Linked DNA regions of Homo sapiens: regions 2 and 3 are each linked to region 1. The links are contacts of gene promoters, found by promoter capture Hi-C in human tissues and cell types (Jung and others, 2019). All regions are on one chromosome and are shown on one strand. The core of a region is centred on a gene start or on the middle of the fragment in contact, and the rest is flanking DNA. Distances in the headings are between cores, read along the strand shown.

Region 1 (4,652 bases), core at 796-3,295:
TGGAAGAGATTTTGCGATGAATGAGCTATAAATGTGGGGGACAGAATGGGAGTGTTGGGAACATTTAAACATTGAGACTCCCAGCAATTAGGATAAAAGTGGTACCATGGAGAGAAATGTGGGGGATGGAGAAGACGGCAATACACAGCCTCTGTGTAGGATAACTGATTGCAATCTCCACAAGTTTTTCGAGGCAAAAACAAAAACAAACTCCAAGTCAAAAATCTCCCCACCCCTGATCTTCCTCCCAAACTCTGGGCTGTATTTTTCTTTCGCTAACAGCCAGTAAGAAATATTTCTTTATGGCATAGGAGACTAAAAAGAAGGTAATGCCAAGCTGGTGCCCCGCCCAGTGCTGGGCACAGAGGAGATCACATGAGTTCCACTGGCCAGCCTCCCCACAAGAAACCAACCCAGTTGCTTATTCAGAAGGGGCTCCAGTATCCTGATCACCCAAACTCATTTCCCAGGCCCAGACCTCTGGGAAATCCCTGCTCCAGCCCTGCAGAGATTTATAGGAAAGTCCCAGGACGCCCATCTGCTTGCTTCCTCACATTAATTTCAGGGCTAGGATTTTGTTTTCTAAAGGAATTCAACTATGATGCCAACAAAAATCTATAGGAATTGAAGAGTTCCGTATTTTAAGTCACATTTTTAAAATGTTTGCTTCTTTGTATATTGAGACCCAGTAAGACCCTAGTAAGCCCAGTTACTCCATCACCTCCAACAATATTAATCAAGTAGAAGACACGCGGATTTTAAAAGCTGTGTGATCCTTGAAAAATCTTCAGACTGTCAGGGGTCCTGGGTGCCTCCAACTGTGAAAGGAGGGTTGGACAAGGCGATTCCTTAGATCTCTCTCGGGTATCTATTTCTCTAATTCCAAATTCCAACAGGCATCCAATGATTGCTACCCACGTCCAAGCTTTAGACTCATAGCCCGAAAAGGGCGAAGCGCAGCGTGGTAGAGATCGCAAAGGAGACAGGAAGAGAAGCAAGCATGCACTTTTAGTAAGACGGCAAAGGAGGCTGGGAGGTACGGTGCTGGGTGCGGACTGCTTAAAAAACTTACTAGACCACAAATTCCAGATACTTAGGTGGGCCCGAGAACGCCCTAAAATCCCCTTCCCAAGTGAGGGCTGATGTTATTTCAAATAAAAAGAAAACTTAACTTCCAGATCTGTAGAGCTCCAAGGTGAGCTCGCTGTGCAAAAGCTACTTCTGTAAGTGCGCCAAGGGGCCGCAGGTACTTAGGCTGCACTTGAGGAAGTGTCCAGAGTTGGCGGAAACAACCCATCCACTCGGGCTCCAGGCGCTCGCTGGGTTGCAGCAACTAAACTGAGACAGACAGACACACAGATCCGAGGCCCCAGGCCAGGACTCAAGGAGCGCTGACCGAGACTTGCCCGGCTCTCGGGCCCCAGGCGGGAGGGAGGCGAGGCTGAGGTGGGGGGCGCACGGGCTGGGTGTGCACTCGCCGGTCCCCTCCGACCCGACCCGGGGAGCACGGGGCCCCGACCCGGGGACGACTGAGGTGGATTGTCCCTAGAGTTTAAGACTGTCCCTAGAGTCGAGGGTGGAGGGATGAGCGCCGGCGCCAGCACAGAGCAAGACTCCCAGCAAGGAAGAGAACCAGAGAAGGAGGCGCAGCCGTCCGCACGGACCAGGCGCGCGCTGGCTCCCCGAGCCCGGAGCGGCGCAGCCCGCGGCGCCCCGGACACACCCACTGGGTAGCCCGCGCCAGCCCGCCCCGCCGGCCAGAGAGCGGGAGCCGGAGCCTGGGCAGCGGAAGCCGGGTCGGGGCCGCGCGGGCGGCGCGCAGGGGACGCGGGGCGCGCGGCTCTGCTCACCTGGCGGTCCGCGTCCCGGAGCGACCGGCGGCCGCCTCGCCTCGCCTCGCCCCCGCGTGGTTCCCGGCGCCGGGCAGCCCCGAGCGCCGCCGCATGGACGGCCGCCACCGCCGCCCAGCCGCCCCGCGCCCGCCCTGCACGGGCTCCCGCTGTGCCCCGATTCCGCGTCGGGCTGCGCGGGCGGCCAGCGGTTCAGGCGCGCGCGGAGAGCTCTGGCTCAGAGTTTGCGATCCGAGAGCGGGATCCGCGCTCCCTCGGTCCTTCCTCCCTCCCCTCTTGCGGCCTCCCGCTGTCATCTGGAGCCGCTCCTGCCGCCCCCTGGCGGCGACCGCGGGAAGGGCCGGCCCCCATCCGCACCCCTGACCCCGGAGGTCAACAACGGGATGGTCCCTGGGTCCCAGGGGAAGAGACATCACCCAGTAGGAGGGAGTACGGTCTAGACAGAGGCCACGAGGGCGGGAGGGGGCGAGAGTGGAGAGTGGCCCAGCTGGCCAGGGTCGTCTAAGTGAGAGGAAAAGGGAGAGGGCGGTTGAGACCAGGCCCTGAATTCCGCGTTCATCTTATCCTGAGGTCTGTGGGGACCTGTTGAAGGACTGGGGCAGGGGACGGACGCGGGCATCCTTCCATTTGGAACAGCCATTCCGGCAGCATCAGGATGGGGCGGAGGCAAAGCGGGGAGTGGGCGAGGCAAGTGGTGCTGTAAACCTGTGCGAGAAGGGGGCGGTGACTCTAAGGGCAGGAAGGAGCCCTGGTCACACACACACTCCCACGCAAGGTAGGACGCGCTGGGCTCCTTCTGAGGCCAAGGGGAAAGGACAAGAGCCCTCCAAATTCCAACGGGGGTTAGACAGCATGGGGAGGAGACACACACACCCTGACGGCCAGAGCCGTTCGGGATTCTTTCTTGTCTTATTCAGAGTAATATTTTGTTGGGGAAAAAAAAGCCTGCTGCAAAAAAATAATAATTCTTCTCATTAGTAATGATAAAAATCAAACTTTGATCCCTTCATTTTACGAATTGGGAAATTATTGCCCCCAAAAGGGCATGACCAAAGTGACGCGTTTAGTTAATGGAGGGAAAATTGCTAGGGCCCCGTTTCTTGAGTCCTAATTCAGAGCCAAATTCTTTACATTCGAGCCAAGGTGTTCAGAGCTGGGAAGGCAGGAAATAGAGTGACTGTGAGGAACTGTCTCTTCTTTCCCCAGAGCAGGGAGGGGGTGACAAATATTTGAAGAGGCTGTCCAGATACAGGCGTTTCCCTAAATTTCAGTCAGCCTGTTTGTTTATCGCTGCCTCTAAAGCTTGCCTGCAGGGGTTGTTTTGAAAGTGCAGGTATACCGAGAGGACAATGAAGGAGGTGGCAGAATGCAAGCTCCCTGCCCCAGAGCCAGGCAGCACCAGGGCTGGGTGCAGAGCGCTTCGTGGGAGCAGAAGGGAGCTCCCAGGGAAGATTGTCCTCCAGAAAAAAAAAAAAATTAACAAAAGGGAAAGAGGCTACTCAAGAGATTAGGCCAAAGAAAGAAACACCATTTTGAGCACCGACTACTGGCCCGGAGCCTGGCAGAGCCAGTTCTGATTGATTCAAGAGCTGGTTCCAATGGGATGAAATAATTCCACACTTGATCAAACAGATTTTGATGGGAGGCACCTGGTGTAAATGGGATTAGATTAATTCTGAGTGTCACGAGTCTCATGGGTCCAAATTAAGTCGATCTAACAGCTCTAGTAAATACTGGCCAGTTTAAACCATTTAGAACTGATTTAAAAAAAAAAACCTGCGCAACTTTAGAATGTACTTAATGTCACTGAATTATACACTTAAAAATGGTTAAAATGGAAATTTTTATGTTATGTACATTTTACCATAATTTTAAAAAAGCAAAACTAATAAGATTTGTTCAAACAAGATTGATTTATTCATTCATTCGAGACAGGTATTCAGTGCCGAGTGTGGCCTTGGTGCTAGGATTCAAAGAGGAAAGGAAGAAAACTTTCCATTCTAAAAGAAACTCCACGTGAGGCGAAGAAGATGAAATATAGTCAGAAAACCATACCAGTAGGTGGTAGGTAAATGCAGAAGTATTTAAGAGCTCATACAGGAGTACCTGCCTCAGGACAGGGAATCTGAGATGCTCTGCAGAGCTGGATCTTAAAGAACGGAGTGAGTTCATCACATAATGTCTGGGGCGAACAGGGCTCAGGAGCAAAGGATGTGGTTTTGTTTGTTATTTTTTAATTTTGAAATAATTTTAGACAAGTTTCACAAATAGTACAAAGAATCCCCTTATATCCCCCACCCTCTTCCTCTAATGTTAACATCCGACATAACCAAAGTATGATTATTAGTGAGCAAACTTGATTCGACAGACCTAGGCTGGCTCCTTAGAAGTGATTCCAGTCCATTTTCAACCTTGGTCAAATTGTTTTGACCATATTTTGCTTATATGTCACAAGAAAGTCTCTTTCTTTAAAGTCAAGATAATACTTGTTTTATTTGTTTATTTATTTTGAGAGAGTGTCTTGCTCTGTCACCCAGGCTGGGGTGCAGTGGCATGATTGCAGCTCACTGCAGGCTCCACCTCCTGGGCTCAAGCAATCCTCTCACTGCGGCCTCCCAGGTAGCTGAGACTACAGGCGTGCGCCACCACATTTGACTAATTTTTTTTTCATTTTTTATTTTTAGTAGAAAGGAGGTATTGCTGTGTTGCCCAGGCTGGTCTCAAACTCCTGAGCTCAAGTGATCCTCCGTTCTTGGCCTCCCAAAGTGCTGAGATTACAGGCGTGAGCCACAGAGACCAGCC
Region 2 (4,652 bases), core at 1,252-3,751, 200 kb after region 1:
CTATCAGCAGAAAGGGCAGCCCCTCTTTGCAACTGGTCATCCCATCAACTCTGCAGCTCTCAGCAGAGAGGAAGCCCTAGAGTGAGTTGCTCCTCTCTGCAGATGGTCATCCCAATGTCTCTACAGCTGTCAACAGAGAGAGGGCCCTAGAGTACTTTGGTCCTCTCTACAGCTGGTTATCCCAATGTCTGCTCAGCACTGGCTGAGTCCAGGGCTTTTATGGGCTTCAGGGTAGAGGAAGTGAGTGCTGATTGGCCCATGGGCGGCCACAGGCAGGCCCAGAAAAGGTACCACAAGTTCCCACTCCAGTCGGTGGGAGTGGCAGTCTGGCCTGAAGGTAGGGAGTCACCAGGGACCTGCCCCCTTCTGCTCAGGCAACTGTCTGCTTCCTGCTGCTGTTCATGGTGCCCAGGCTATAAGTATGAAGGGGCACCTGCAGGCCAGCACCTAGCTGCCCTCAGCCCCCCTCAGATTCCCTTCTATGCTTGTTGGCACCAAAAGTTCAGAGGGAGCTGAGGTGGCAAGGGACTGGTGTGTAAGCACTGCCCCAAGCATGTGCACACTTGGCCAGGCTGCCACAGCACCCAGGCTCAACCACAACTTTGCTCTGAGATTGGAGCAGGCACCAACAGCAGGGAGAAGCCAGACAGCAGAAACAAACACTTCAGAACCTGTCGGGAGAGTGAGGGTTGGGGGGTACTTTCTGCGTCCCCAAGAGTGCAGAGATGCCTGGGTCCACAGCTGCAGTTTGGGAGGCTGCAGCTGTACCCAGGAGGGCGGGGCTCCTGCCTGCTTCCTGGCCCCAACAGCACAGGGATGCCCAGGTCTGCAGCCGTGACTTGAGTGGCTGCAGCAGCACCCGGGGAGCTCCCGCCCCAACTCGGAAGGGGCAGGGCTCCCACTTGTCCCCAGGTCCACCTGGCTCCATGGAGCCCACAGCCCCAGCCACGCCTCCCTGCTGCAGCTGGCCTGATGGCAGCAGCCACTCCAGATGGCCTGCTGCTGCCGTTAATAATCAGCACTGAGGCCAGGCGCGGTAGCTCACACCTGTAATCCCAGTACTTTGGGAGGCTGAGGTAGGTGGATCACTTGAGGTCAGGAGTTTGAGACCAGCCTGACCAACATGGTGAAACCCTGTCTCTACTAAAAATACAAAAACTAGCCAGGTGTGGTGGCATGGGCCTGTAATCCCAGCTATTCAGGAGGCTAAGGCAAGAGAATCACTTGAACCCAGGAGGCAGAGGTTGCAGTGAGCCAAGATCACGCCACTGCACTCCAGCCTGGGCGACAGAGCGAAACTCCACCTCAAAAATAATAATAATAATAATAAATAATCAGCACTGAACTGCAGCAGAGAAGTTTGAGCTGCACACTAAGGAGAGGGTAAGTAAAAACTAACACTGTGAAGTGATGAGAGCTCAAAGTGATGTTAAGCCCCACTATTATAATAGAGCAAGTGTAGCACAATGGGATGAGTTTCTGCATGACACAAAATAGAAGTCCTCATGGAGGACTTCATAAACCTGATGAACATTAAAATGAATTTCACAATCACTAGAGATTAATTTGCTCATTTGTATTGCCATCACAGTATATTTGAAATTTCTTACTAACACTTCAAAGCAGATGTTAGCTAAAAGAACTTTTCTCAGATGTCTAATCTATATTTCACATTGTTATTTGGACACTCTTATATTCAAGAAACACCATCTAGGTTCCATCCAGTTTCCAGAAAAGAAACATGTTTATTATAAATTCAATAATATATAAAAGTAACCTATGACCACGTTTAAAATGTGTTTTAAGATTTTTGATTTAACTAATGTAAAGATAAAATTATATAAAAGTTGAAAAAGAAACAAGATTATGAGTATTAACAGATGATAAAACTGTGTAATAAGACATGGAGTAAAATATTTTAAAACTAAACAGGTGATAGAATTTAAAATGCAAGAAGCCAGTAAAAAGGAAAATAGATACTGTAGAAAAAGTAATCAGTAATGTCAGCGCAAGCTTAGAAATCCTCCCAAAATGCTAAGGAAAAACAGAGAGGAAGAATAAAAGATAAGATGGAGAGATGGAAGACAAACAATACAGATATAACAAACATAAATGGAAAAGAAGCAGTGTTTAAATATAGAAAACTTTCCTGAGCTCAAGAAATATATAAATATATAGAGTTATGGGGGACAATTGTATGATCTGCACGGTGTGTTTTCTCCCTTCTGCTAATAGTTCTGGACATTTCTTTTAGAAAACTACCCTTCCACATGGTCCTGGTGGGGCTTACAATTAGAATGCCTGCATTTAGTTACCTTCTAGTTAGAAAAGTCTGAAAAGAAACATGGTTAATTCTTGTATATAGACCCATATTTTAAAAATCACTAAGAATATTATCTGGCTTCTTGGTTTGCAACCCAACAGGCCAGAATCATGTACAACATCTGCTATGGAATAAAGTCAATTACTCGTTACAGCCATGGACAAAGTCACAAGCATAAAGCAGATAATAGAAGCTTCAGGCAAAGGGTTGTATAAAGTGACAGCATAGGTCTTGATTGATTGATATACTTCACAGCAAGAAAAAAGATGATGGGAATGTTGGAAAGCCCATTTATGGGTCATACAGATCAGAGAGTGTCCCAATATAGTCTGCAAGGCTTCTTAATACATCTAGGAAAGCTGGATACTCCAGTCTTAACCTTTGTGTATGAGAGTAACCTAGATTGCTCTGCCTGGATAAAGATAACCTTCCTACCTACCAATACAGAAAAGGCAAGTGTTTGCTTTCAGGTAAGCAGCCACAGAAATAGCAGGCTCTCCCTGGAGGAAAAGAGATCACTGAAAGAACAGATTCTTCTTGAAGCACATCTGTGTCTATGTTAAAGCAAAAATTCACTGAGAGAAAAAATTATGGTTAACCAACACAAGCTCTAGGTTAGAAATTCCTACTCAACCTCCTAGATTCCTCTGTATTCACTACTCATATATAATTAATTGCTAAGTCTTGATGTTTCTACTTTTTAAATATTTATCCAATCTGCCCCCTTATCATATCCTTATTGCTACTACTTTAGTTCATGCCACCATCACTTCTCGCCAAGATTATTGTAATTAGTTTCTCCCAACTGTTTTGTCTCCATTTCCCCTCCTTCCATCTCTACTTCCCAATCCATTTCCTGAACACCATCATCATTACTCAGAATGATTTCACATCCATAAACCAATTATGTTTTATTTCACAATGTGCACCAAGCATATTTTTATTACCAATAGAAGTAAATTCAAAAGACAAAAAACATTCACTTAATGTCTTTTAGCTTCTTTACTATAAGATGCTAAATTTTTAGAATTGGACATTAGTTGTTTCATCTAGAATAGTTCCTTCCTGGCTTTTTAGAAACCTAAGGTAACTAAGACTGTATCTTTGCTTTGAAATACTGTGAATTTTTGCTATTTGGATTCATATATTATGAAACAAGACTCAGATTTTCATTTAAAACTTTCTTCTTCCAGTTATAGAACATTTGTACTGCACAAATTACTTCTCAAGGTTCTATAACTGGAAGAACCTTGAGAAGTAATTTGTGCACTACAAATGTTTAATTTTAACACACACAATATCACAAACATATGCTGAAATTATAAAATATATAACACAGGTCAGCTAACAAGGAACAGACATTTTTCATCAACATAATGATTGGTAAATAATGCCTATACATAAGGTACAGATCAAATGATATGGTATTCATTTATCAGGTGCTCTTGAAGATCTTGGGTAGTACTCACAAACTCTTAAAGATATATTAGAATTTGAAAATCATATGTTTATTATTTCTCATGTATACACTTTAAAATAAACAAGAAAAATACTGCTATCATAAAATGTTTCATTTATAGTTATAAACAGTTTTTAAAATACAGGATAAAACACCAATTAATTTGCCTGGCATACAAAGCCCTCCACAATCTGGCCGTTGCCTACCTTTCTAGTCTCTTCTCTCAGCATCCTTCCACACATGCTCTGTTCTCTGGTGGTAAATACTTACTGTGTTGTTTTCCATCTCAGTGCCTTTGCATATGATATTCTTTTACTGTCAATACTCTTTAATTCTTCTTCCCCTTCTAGCACCATCTAACTGGATAACTTCCCCTCTGTTGGACAGACAGTAACTAACCTGCAGAGCCAGACAATTCCCAGGCCACCAACACTCCTCCCACTTACTACATGCACACACAGACAAACACATCAGGCTGAACTAGATTCGAACCTAATAGATGTGGCCTATTAAATCTATCAAGGTTTTTATTAATTACATTAGCTTTTCACCAAAACTACTGGAACTAACAGCTGTTAGAAAGCCTAGAGAGACCACACTGAGGTTTTCACCTGACCAACTGTAAGCAGCTGTGAAAGATCTTGTTCATCAACAGGCAGGGATTCCCCGATCATCCCAGGATGTAGGCTTATCACTGCAGAAGAGACTTTACATTCTGCATAAGTATGTAGCTCATGTAACTATTTATAAATATTACATTTCAAAGACAAATATTTAAATGGATGAGCAAAGGACTGAAAAACAGCCAATATGATCTGACAGAGAAGAATAAAGAGAGGGAACATAAAAAAATAGATATAGAGCTGGGCA
Region 3 (4,652 bases), core at 1,012-3,511, 180 kb after region 1:
CTCCCAGATTCTTCCTGGAATCTACCTGAGATATTTCTGGGCACAATCATTGTTATTGGCACTCAACCTGGAGAAACTGAGAGGTAGCAGCCTTTAAAAATACATTTTAAATCCTTTGAATCAAGGCATCTCATTTAAAAAATACATCTGTCCCTTTGAGCTCCAGCATGCCATCTTCAGAGATTATAAACACCTTCTAAGACATAACTTTTTTCAATAAAAATAGAAAACTCAAATTCCATCAGGATATAATTTGTGAGAAAAAGTTTTTTAAGTTTATTTGACAAAATTATAATTATTTAATCTCTGTTTATGAGACAAAATTTTACGTCTTTATCAAATTTTAAAAATCATTAAATGTCATTGCCTAGTAGAGTTATCAAAAATATAAAAATATTCACAAGTTGAAACACTAAAATGCAGAATTCAATTCTATATATCCTCATAATCACTTACATAGATACCCTTTCCAGAACTTTAAAAAGCAAATAATTATACACAATCATTTTTCGTTGTTCCAAATTTCATTTCTGTAAGAAAATGTTAACTTTTCTCCAATTTTTTAGCAATTCTGTGATATACTTTTGTAACAAAATTCTAGCATTATAATAGACAAAAAGAAAACACCGTATTTACCGTATCAATTATCTATGCATGCATTATTTACAGAAGAAAGACCTGTTAAAAACTACTAGGGGATGGCTCCTCTAATATAAGAGAGTAAACAAAAGATGGGATATATATAAGATTCAGGGAGTACAATTCATCATCTAGGAGAGGCAAAGAGAAATCCAAGGATGAAATCTGTATAGCAGGGCTAAATGCAAGCAGACTTCATTAGACAGGGGACAGGAGGCTCTAGAAGGGTATCTCCAAGAGGTAAAAATGAAACACAGATCACCTGAAGTCTTTGCCTATACAGAAAGGGATTTTAGGGTTTTGTTGGAGAGTTTGGACATTAATGATAGTTAAACAAGCCCTAAATTGAGACAGCTATTAATCTCAGGGAAAACAAAAGTTTAACATCATGGTCCAAGACTCACTTTGAAAACCTCACCGTGCTTTGTCAACCATCCTAATCTATTCTATCATAAATGTATCCATTTTCATTAAGCCCCTGCATTGAAAGACCCACCCTAAACCAGAACCCCAAGAAATTTCAAACTAAATCTCCTGTCTCTGCCTTCGAAGATACAGCCAAGGCTATGTCAAGGCAGTGTGCTTTTACTTGCCAGTAGTAATTTCTCCTTTGCTTTATCAACTAGTCATTCTGGCGGTACTCTGCAGGAGCCAGCACTCAACAATCTGCTTACCTAAAAATTATTTCGGAATGACAGGGAAAGTGGAAATGGGGGTTAGGGATAATGTAAGAAAGGTAAATTCTCATCTATTTAAGAAAAAGTATTTATTTTACTGTCAAGCATTAAATACCCCTAACATATCCTTTCTGGAGGTAACTATTTCAGCATCAGAGAAACTATAACAAAGAAGCCAGAATGTTAACATACCTAAGATGAGAGGGAAAAAAATGAAATAAAATGTTTACATGTAGGGGAATATTTATAGCTCGTTATTAATTTCCTCATTATCTTAAATTTATTATTTTTAATAAAACATAATACTGAAAATAATATTCAAAACATTTTTTGAAGTAAAATTCAAAACTATTTTATGTATTTGGAAAATATAATCTTTTAAAAAATAGAAAAAATTATTTACCACAAGATTATTTGAGAGGATTATAATTCTTTATTTTCCAAAAAAATACTGATTTGTTTTCTGAGAAAAATGCTTGTCCTACTCTGCTCAGGCACTGTTGTCCATATCCCTAAACTGCATAAAAGAACTAAATGGCCAGGTGTGGTGGCTTGTGCCTGTAATCCCAGCAATTTGGGAGGTGAGGTGGGTGCATCATTTGAGATCAGGAGTTCGAGACCAGCCTGACCAGTGTGGTGAAACCCCATCTCTACTAAAAATACAAAAATTAGCCAGGCACGGAGGCGTGTGCCTATAGTCCCAGCTACTTGGGAGGCTGAGACGGGAGAATTGTTTGAACGAGGGAGGCGGAGGTTGCAGTTAGCCGAGATTGCGCCTCTGTACTCTAGCCTGGACAACAGAGCAAGACTCCATCTCAAAAAAAAAAAAAAAAAAAAAGACAGAGAAAGAAAAAAGAAAAGAAAAGAACTAAATGATTCAGCAATCTGATCACGTGGGGAATATCTATCACTGGAGCTATTTTTAGAGCAGCTTCCTCTAGAGGAATAAGGAAGAAGAAAGGTGAACAGATTTTGACATGCACCAAGGATTCTGACATGCAACAAGTAGGGCAAAGATGTCTATAATAAAATCATAGCTACTCTCATTTTTACTATGTAGGCTTTCATACAAAACAAGTTAGAGTAAAAATATATAGGGGTAATTATTCTAACTTTGAGAGCTGTAAACAGATTCATTCACAAAGCATCAAACAAGCTTGGAAACAAAAAACAATGAAGTATTCCTTTTTAAAAAAAAGACTTATTAAATTAATTCCAAAATAACTACTTGCTTCACCTATCACTTTGTGACACAGACACTTATTATATGAGGACTAATAGCTGCAAGCCATCATATTAAAACTCTAATCATATATATAAATGCCAATGAAAAAAGTCCATTATTTGGCAGTTATCCAAAGGCATTAATGGGTTTATCTGGTTTTTGTACTTGTTTACTACCCATTACACAGCAATAGATATCAGTCAATTCACCAGTCTGATTTTCTTCTACACACTGTTTTAATACCCCAGAGCAAAAACTGAAAGGGAACTTAAAACCAGACCAGTAAGAAGGCACTGATATGCTGACTAATTAGGGAAATGTCCAGTCTTTATAATCTAGGAGAGCTAGATTTAACAGCTTTGAGGAAATCAATAAAAAGCCTCAATTTCATAACCATAGGCTTTCCCTCACTGGAATTTACAGTTCAAACTTACATCACAAACATAATCTAAAAAGACCCCTCATAAAAAATGGTACCTGGCATTCATGACCCTAACACTCCTGGCAAAACTGTCTAGAAGGACACGAATTCAACTCAGGCTTTGCAACATCCTGACTATTCCAAACTATTAAACTATAAAGAAAAAATTACCATGAGTAACAGTCAGTAGAACTTTCAGGCAACAGATGAAGAAATGCCAAAAAATTAAGAAAATATAGTAACTTGATAAAGACTATGGAATATTTATCTTTAAATTTATAAGAGCAATGAAAAAAATTAAAAACAAGAAAAAATAAGGTACATGCATGCCTCGTTTAATTATGCTTTGCAGATATTGTGCTTTTTTTTAAATTTTACAAATTGAAGGTTTGTGGCAATCCTGTATCAACCAAGTCAGTGCCATTTTTCCAACAGCATGTGCTCACTTCGTCTCTAGGTCACATTTTTGTAGTTCTCACAATATTTCAAATTTTATTATTATTATATTTGTTATGATTATCCGTGATCAGTGATCTGTGATATTACTATTGCAATTGTTTTGGGGCATCACAAACTGTGCCCATAGAAGGTTGCAAACTTAATCAACAAATGTGTGTTCTGACTGCTCCACTCACTGGCACTTCCCCCATCTCTCTCCCTCTTCTTGGTCCTACCTTTGCCTCGAGGCACAACAATATTAAAACTAGGCCAATTAATAACCCCTACAATGGTCTCTAAGTGCTCAAGTGAAAAAATGAGTTACAAGTCTCTCACTTAAAATCAAAAGCTAGAAATGGTTAAGCTTAGTGAGAAAGTCATGTTGAAAGCTGAGATAGGCTGAAAACCAGGCCTCTTTCACCAGCTAGCCAAGTTATGAATGCAAAGGAAAAGTTCTTGGAGAAAATCAAAAGTGCTACTCCAGTGGAACACACAATTAATAAATAAAAACAATAGGAAGAAAGTTTGAATGGTCTGGAAAGATCAAACCAGCCACAGTATTCTCTTAAGCCAAAGCCTAATCCAGAACAAGGCCTTAACTCTCAACAATTCTATGAAGGCTGAGAGAGATAAGGAAGCTGCAGAAGAAAAGCTAGAAGCTAGCAGAGGTTGGTTCATGAGGTTTAAGGACAGAAGCCATCTCCAGAACATAAAAGTGCAAGGTGAAGTAGCAGCAAGTGCTGATGTCAAAGCTGCAGCAAGTTACCTAGATAATCCAGCTAAGATAACTGATGAAGGTAGCTACCCTAAACAACAGATTTTCAATATAGAGAAACAGCCTTCTATTGGAAGAAGATACCATCTAGGACTTTTATAGATGGAGAGGAGAAGTCAATAACTAACTTCAAAGCTTCAAAACACATGCTGACTCTCTCGTTAGGAGCTAACAAAGTTGTTGACATTAAGATGAAGCCAATGCTCCTCTGCCATTGTGAAAATCCTATGGCCCTTAAGAATTGTGCTAAATCTACTGTGCCTGTGCTCTATAAACAGAACAACAAAGTTGTATGCTGATGACAGTATATCTGTCTGCAGCATGGTTTACTGAATATTTTAAGCCCACCATTGAGATCTGCTCAGGAAAAAATTTTCCTTTCAAAATATTACTGCTTATTAACAATGCACTTGGTCACCCAAGAGCCCAGATGGAGATGTAGAAGGAGATTAATGTTGTTTTCATGCCTGCTAACAC

The links. The method cuts DNA at HindIII sites, captures the fragments that hold promoters and counts their contacts. A contact is called where the count stands out against the background at its distance.
Region 2: a contact is called between a fragment that was not itself captured here and the fragment with the promoter of CT62 in region 1, in 2 of the 25 tissues and cell types used here (bladder and mesenchymal stem cells).
Region 3: a contact is called between a fragment that was not itself captured here and the fragment with the promoter of CT62 in region 1, in 2 of the 25 tissues and cell types used here (lymphoblastoid cells and mesendoderm cells).

What each region holds. Positions count from the first base shown.
Region 1 is chr15:71,112,897-71,117,548 of GRCh38, reverse strand. CT62 (cancer/testis associated 62) reads left to right here and starts at 2,045. Exons shown (of 4, transcript NR_168260.1): 1 at 2,045-2,625; 2 at 3,786-3,918. It overlaps THSD4 (thrombospondin type 1 domain containing 4), which reads right to left and starts at 2,078. Exons shown (of 18, transcript NM_024817.3): 1 at 1,851-2,078. RefSeq lists silencers at 1,685-1,774, 1,925-2,064, 2,095-2,154, 2,001-2,178, 2,215-2,264. The HindIII fragment of the contact is 8,632 bases long and covers 1-4,652 here.
Region 2 is chr15:70,912,968-70,917,619 of GRCh38, reverse strand. The region is part of intron 6 of LRRC49 (leucine rich repeat containing 49); the gene reads right to left. Among named protein-coding and RNA genes, the nearest start is that of LRRC49, 22 kb to the right of the region's middle. The HindIII fragment of the contact is 3,399 bases long and covers 802-4,200 here.
Region 3 is chr15:70,930,229-70,934,880 of GRCh38, reverse strand. The region is part of intron 7 of LRRC49 (leucine rich repeat containing 49); the gene reads right to left. Among named protein-coding and RNA genes, the nearest start is that of LRRC49, 40 kb to the right of the region's middle. The HindIII fragment of the contact is 3,552 bases long and covers 486-4,037 here.